Regions from separate parts of the Homo sapiens genome. Here region 1 is linked to region 2. The links are contacts of gene promoters, found by promoter capture Hi-C in human tissues and cell types (Jung and others, 2019). All regions are on one chromosome and are shown on one strand. Each heading gives the region's core, a stretch centred on a gene start or on the middle of the fragment in contact. The rest is flanking DNA. Distances are from core to core; before and after follow the strand shown. Region 1 overlaps SLC6A3 (solute carrier family 6 member 3). Region 2 holds the start of SLC6A3 (solute carrier family 6 member 3).

Region 1 (3,093 bases), core at 594-3,093, 52 kb before region 2:
CATGGGCCTAGGCTGGACCACGACGCACTCAGCAAAGCCCAGCTGTCTCTGTGACCAACGGCCATCTGGGCCGGCCCCTGCTGCCGAGCTGCTGGGACCACAGGCAGAGGAGACCCACCTGGCAGAGGAGACCCACCCAGCCCCGGAGCCCACCTCTCCGATTGCTGGGGCTTAATACAGTCGCCCATGAGGCTGTCGGAGTCCTTCAAGTCTCAGCCCACATAGTGACTTATGGCCACCCACACAGTATCTGCCTGGACCCCAGACCTGAGTGGTCAGCAGGGATCACACCTGGGGGCTCCAGGTGTGAGCTGTTAGGGCGGCACCTGTAGCAGGCGGGGTGTAGCCACCCCTGAGGGTAAGGGACATCCTATGTGACGATGGGGACGGTGGGAGGCACTAGTTAGGCTGCAGGCAGGTTCAGCCCTTGTAGGCAGCCCAGCACTTTTCCTGCCACAGAGTTCACTGACCCAGCTGAAAGGTGCGAGCGTCCTTCCTGTCCACACGCAGCCACGTGCTACGATGCAGCAGTAGCAGTGTCCCCATGTGCTGCCAGGCACAAAGCCCTCGGTGTGGGGTGTGCCCTCAGGCAGTTCGGGGCAGGGCTGCAGGTGGGGCTGGCGGGAGTGACGCTTGTCTTATCACAGGTCACTGCCTGGAAGGGGTGCTGCCATCCTATCACAGGTCATGCTGAGGGCATTGGCATTTACTCCAAGCACCAGGATAACCCTGGGGTTTCCTTGGGCTGTGGCCTGATCTGTTGGTATCTAGAAGAATCCTTTAGGCCACAGAGCGACGAAAGATGCTTGGACTGAGGACCAGGACCCACCAAGATCTGGGATGGGGCTTGGAAGAGGCTCTTGGGTTGGGCAGTGGCAGTGGTCAGGCAGTGTGGTTGGAGTCTGGACATGTGGGGAGCCCACAAGAATGCTGAAAGGCAGGTGAGGGGCTGGGGGAGAGCGGTGCAGGATGGCACGGAGGTCCAGCCTGAGCAAGTGGGCACGACATAAGGTGCCACAACCTGCCACAGGGGACCCTGCAGGAGTGCAGACGTGGGTGAGGGTCACCACTGCACCCAACACTGTGTGGGAGCCCAGGGAAGGGGAAACAGATCACACCCAGCACACCTGCGTGGGAGCCTGGGGAGGGGGACAGGTCACACCCAGCACACCTGCGTGGGAGCCTGGGGAGGGGGGACAGGTCACACCCAGCACACCTGCGTGGGAGCCTGGGGAGGGCGACAGGTCACACCCAGCACACCTGCATGGGAGCGTAGTGGATGTGTTATCTCTAACGTCTAGGCTTTAGGGGAGGCCGGAAGGAGAGATGGGCCAAGAGGCATCAGGTGAGGAAGCTTTGCTGTGGGTGGGCTGGGGTGGGGCAGAAGCTGACCTCGGGGTGTGAGCAGGTGAGCTGGGCCTGTGTAAATGGATGGGGCCCAGCGGAAACGAGACAAGGAGGCTGAGGCAGTTTTTCCATTGTGGATGTCTTTTATTGTGCTTAGGGACCCACACGATGCTGAATAGAGATTGGTCAACAGACACGGACAACACCTGGGTTGCTACACGGAGCCCCTCCCCAGAAGGCGATGGGGAAGCCGCTCTCTGTGCTGACTGCAGCAGCCAGAAGGCGATGGGGAAGCTGTCCTCTGTGTCCCTCCCCAGAAGGCAATGGGGAAGCCGCTCTCTGTGCTGACTGCAGCGGCCAGAAGGCGATGGGGAAGCCGTCCTCTGTGTCCCTCCCCAGAAGGCAATGGGGAAGCCATCCTCTGTGCTAACTGCAGCTGCCTGGCAGTTCACAGGCTGACGGCTCCCACCGAGCATTACACTCCAGTCCCTGGAGCCCACGTCCACTTGCAGGGGACAGCCATGACTGGCCCTGCACGGCCCCTGCCCTCGGGCAGCACGTAGGCAGGCCCACCGACTTGAGGCATGAATTCAAACTATGGCATCCACTTTCCTGTCAGTGGCAGAGGGCAGTGTGCCATGGAAAGCAGCTTTTGGCCAACATCCTTCACTCAGTATTGCTAATTATTCTTGTAAACAAAAACTGCAATATCAGCAAGCAGGCTCGCGGATACTGCATTCTTGAATTTGTTTTGATTCACAGGTAAATATGATTTTAAAAAGCCATTCGCAAACATAAAAACTGTTGTTATTGATGTGGCACGCACCTGAGAGAAATAAAATTCCAGTGGGGTCCCTTCCTGGAGGTCACGGCTCAAGGCCAGGCAGAGTGTGGTCTGCAGGCTGCCTGCATGGGGGCCCTGCATGCGTCCTGGGGTAGTACACGCTCCTGTGGGGGCCCTGCATGCATCCTGGGGTAGTACACGCTCCTGTGGGGGCCCTGCATGCGTCCTGGGGTAGTACACGCTCCTGTGGGGGCCCTGCATGCGTCCGGTCCGGGGATAGGACACGCTCCTGTGGGGGCCCTGCATGCGTCCTGGGGTAGTACACGCTCCAGTGGGGGCCCTGCATGCGTCCTGGGGTAGTACACGCTCCTGTGGGGGCCCTGCATGCGTTCTGGGGTAGTACACGCTCCTGTGGGGGCCCTGCATGCGTCCAGGGATAGGACATGCTCCTGTGGGGGCCCTGCATGCGTCCGGGGATAGGACACGCTCCTGTGGGGGCCCTGCATGCGTCCGGGGATAGGACACGCTCCTCTCAGGCCGTTCCCTACACCGCAAGGACCCACAGGCTGCCTGAGTGGCAGTAGCCTGAGCTGGTTTCAAGGAGTTTTATTTCTCTCTGCTGCAAGAACATAAACAGAATTTCCTGGTGAGACATACCAGGACCCCCATCCTCCAATGCCTCTGAACAGACTGTGTGTGCAATGTGTCAACTGAACGCTCAATTTACGGCCTCTGCTGGGAGCCACGCATCGGGAAAGGACTTTGCATGAATTTGTGGTTTCCTCCATTTCACCTTCTGCACAGCTAAACCAAGCAGGACACTTGGCTTTTTAATATGGGCAAAGTAAATGGTCTAGGAAGCTACTGTGAGCACGGGGATTCTCAGCAGGTGCGTCTACAAGGATCGTGATCCCCGCCTGAGAACACAGTGCCCCTGGGGCAGCCTCAGAGCCGGGAGCAGG
Region 2 (3,160 bases), core at 42-2,541:
TGAGAGAGCTGGGCGGAGGATGGACAGGGCTTCATCGCGGGAACTAGCTCCTGGGCCAGCAGGGTAACCCGGGAAATCCTGTCCAAACGGCTACATAAACCCCCCTGCAACGCTGAGCAGGAGAGCAGGAGCGTCTACACCGCCCCAGCCAGGGCGACTTCTGTCATTTGGATCCAGCAGCAGCGTGTTTCAGTCGAGCGCACGCACACACAGACACACAGACACACACAGACTCACAAACACACATACACACTCACACACACACAGGCGAGCACATACACTTACACACATACACACTCACACTCACACAGGTGCGCACACACACACAACGACTGAAGCAGGTCGCAGGTGGAGGCTCTAACAGGCAACTTTCCCTGCATCCAAGTTTGCACAAAACCTCACCCATGAGCTATCACGAGCTATGCCACGCACCCGGTGACAACCTCAACCGGCACGACCCCTCCGGTGGGTAAAACACCCGACGAAGGGGTTCCGCGGCGCGAGCAGGAGGCCGCGTTGGGAGAGGGCGTCGGGTGCGGAGCTCGCGAGTCTCCGGCAAGCCGCCGCCGCCCTGGGGCCACCTGACCCCGCTCCTGAACGCGGGGCCTCAGAGGCGAGTTTTGGGTCTACACAGCAAAATGTGGCCCGTTAGAAAGCGTCCTTCCTCACCGCGCCCAGAACAAGAAGCGGCGCTGCCTGGCGAGTCCTCGCCCGGCCTCCCCGCCCTGCCCAGAGCACCAGCGCGCAGCCCGCGCCCGCCACCACCCCCAACACAGACAAAGCCCCCGCGAGATGGAGCGGCGGTGTACAAAACCCACTCCGATCGGATCTGGGATGCGCCGCACCCCTAGTAGGGTTAAGTTCCACGAGAAGAAACCAGGACCCCCGAGTCACAGCCATAGACACCCACGCGTCCCCTAAGCCGGTGACTGCACCAGGTGCCCACCCGGTTCTGAGCCTGGAGCGGGGCCAGGGGCAGCCCTGCACCCTCCTCGCGCCTCGGACGGCCTCAGGGTCCCATGTGGCGCTATCGGGGGGCGCTCGGCACCCGCGACTGTTGGCGACTTTGGAGACGGCGCGGTCTGCGGGACGCGGGGACCCCAGACTGTGCCCGGTCCCCGGCCCCCGCCCCTGCGCCCCACTTCGGGGTCTGCGGAAGGAGCGGGGCGCCCCGATGCCGCGAGCGACGCTGGCCTCACCTGGCCGCCCGGGCCTGGGCTTTGCACGCGAGTCCTGGCGCCGAGAGCGTTCCGCGAAGCCTCCCCTCCCGCTCCGCAGCGCTGGGCGGTCTCAGCCTCGGCCTCGGGCTCTTATCCAGTAGACAGGGTCCGCCCCGCCCCGCCCTCCCGCCGACGGGGTCGCCCTCGCGTCCTGGCTCCTCCTCCTCACCTCCCCGGGCCGCGCCCCCGCCCCCGCCTCCCGGACGCAGATGGCTGGGAGCAAGCGGCGGCCACGGCTCCACTGTCCTGCGCGTCCCGGAGCCTCGGACACGGGGTGCGGGGGCCTGGGGGTCCGAGACGTCGCGGATCTAGACGGGCGCCTTCCACGCGGGAACTGTCTGGGCCGCCCTGCGCCCTCGCCCGCACCCCTGGGGGCTGCCCCGGGCACCCGCTATCTTCGGACGCCCAGGGCTGGCGGCTCCCAGCTGGACGGGGAGGGAGCCGAGCGGCTGCGCGCGGGGAACTGCTGGGACCCCGTCGGGCCGACCCTTCCCTCCCTCCCCATCAGGGGCCCCTACGGTGGCCCCGCGCTCTGGGGACCACGTCCCTCCCACCCCGCCGCTCCACGCTCTGACCAGCGGGCTCGGGACCCCGCCGAGGACTCTGCACGCTTCCCGGCGTGCGGGCTGCGGAGACGCGGGTCCTTCCGTGGCCTTGGGGTCTCCGCGACCTCGAGGCGACCGAGGTCCCCTAGGCCTAGTCCCCGCCTTGCCGGCATCTAGTGCGCCTGCATCGGAACCGAGGGGCCCGCCTCGCACTCGCCTAAGAAAACCATTTCCCGGGACGGGCCTGGAAAGCCCTGGCGGTTGGTATCCGGCTCCAGGGCCGAATGGACTCCGAGGCTTTCCTTCCGAGATGCCCGGGCGGGATTTCTTCCATTCAGCGCGCGGAGGAATGGAGCCCCCAGGCCGCCAAGGCCCAGGATGTCCAGGTCCTTAGAAGGCACCGAGGTGAGTGGCCGCGCCCAGCTCTGTGCGTCGCCCCTAGGGTCGCCCGAACCCCGGCGTTCCTCCCCGTGTACCCTCGATGCTCCCGTGAGCACCCTGCCCTGGGCGTCCAGGCGAGCCCTGGGGCTCTCCAGCCATTCCAGCCTGCAGCCCGCGCTCAGCAGTGAGGGAGGCAGGGACCCTTGGTGCCTGACTCCGCAGTACCCGCCCGCAGCGCGGTGCCCCACCCCCTGCGCCCGCCCCGCACTCCCCGCACACCACCACTCCCCTCCCCGCCCCCCGCTCCCCCGCTCCCCGGCTCCGGGGCTGGCACCCAGGCAGAAGGCACTCAGGGCTGTGACTTCACGCTGAGTTGGAATCAAGTGGGAGCCTAGTGACCCCCTGGGGCTGCCATGACAAAAAACTCCACAGCCTGGGGGCTCACACAGAAGCCTTCAGTTCTAACGGTTCCGGTGTCCCGAGGCCAAGGCCTGGCCGACTCTGTGTCTGGTGAGGGCCGCTTCGGGGTTGCAGACAGTTCTCTCCCTGTATCTCCCCACGCTAGGGGCTGGGGAGAGCTCTCCGGGGTCTGTTTTATGAGGGCACTGGTCCCATTCCTCAGGGTGGAGCCCTCCTGGCCTGACCACCTGAAGGCCTCCTGACACCACCTCCCATCAGGGGTGGGACTTCATCGCCAGGGAGGTGAGGGGACTTCAGGAGAGGGGGATGTGCCACCTCGAAGCTGTAGTGTGTCAGTGGCTGCCACAGAAGGGATCTCTCTACCCCTATTATCTCCATGGCACAGGTTTCAATAAAAAGGAGTGAGCCAGGGCTTGGCCCCAGAGCAGCAGGGTTGAGGAAACAGTCTCCCAAGGAAAAGACTTTGCAGGTGACTAAGGGAGGCTGTTAAATAAAACACACAGAGAGAATGGATGTTCAGGTATATTAAAAATACACAGGCCAGGAGTGAGGGCTCACGCTTGTAATCCCAGCACTCTGGGAGGCCGAGGAAGG

What was found. Contacts are between HindIII fragments. The study calls those that stand out against the background at their distance.
Region 1: a contact is called between a fragment that was not itself captured here and the fragment with the promoter of SLC6A3 in region 2, in 1 of the 25 tissues and cell types used here (stomach).

Annotation. Positions count from the first base shown.
Region 1 is chr5:1,391,324-1,394,416 of GRCh38, forward strand. SLC6A3 (solute carrier family 6 member 3) reads right to left here. Exons shown (of 15, transcript NM_001044.5): 15 at 1,471-3,093. Among named protein-coding and RNA genes, the nearest start is that of LINC01511, 13 kb to the left of the region's middle. The HindIII fragment of the contact is 8,724 bases long and covers 1-3,093 here.
Region 2 is chr5:1,444,149-1,447,308 of GRCh38, forward strand. SLC6A3 (solute carrier family 6 member 3) reads right to left here and starts at 1,292. Exons shown (of 15, transcript NM_001044.5): 1 at 1,200-1,292. RefSeq lists an enhancer at 1,930-2,429. The HindIII fragment of the contact is 20,714 bases long and covers 1-3,160 here.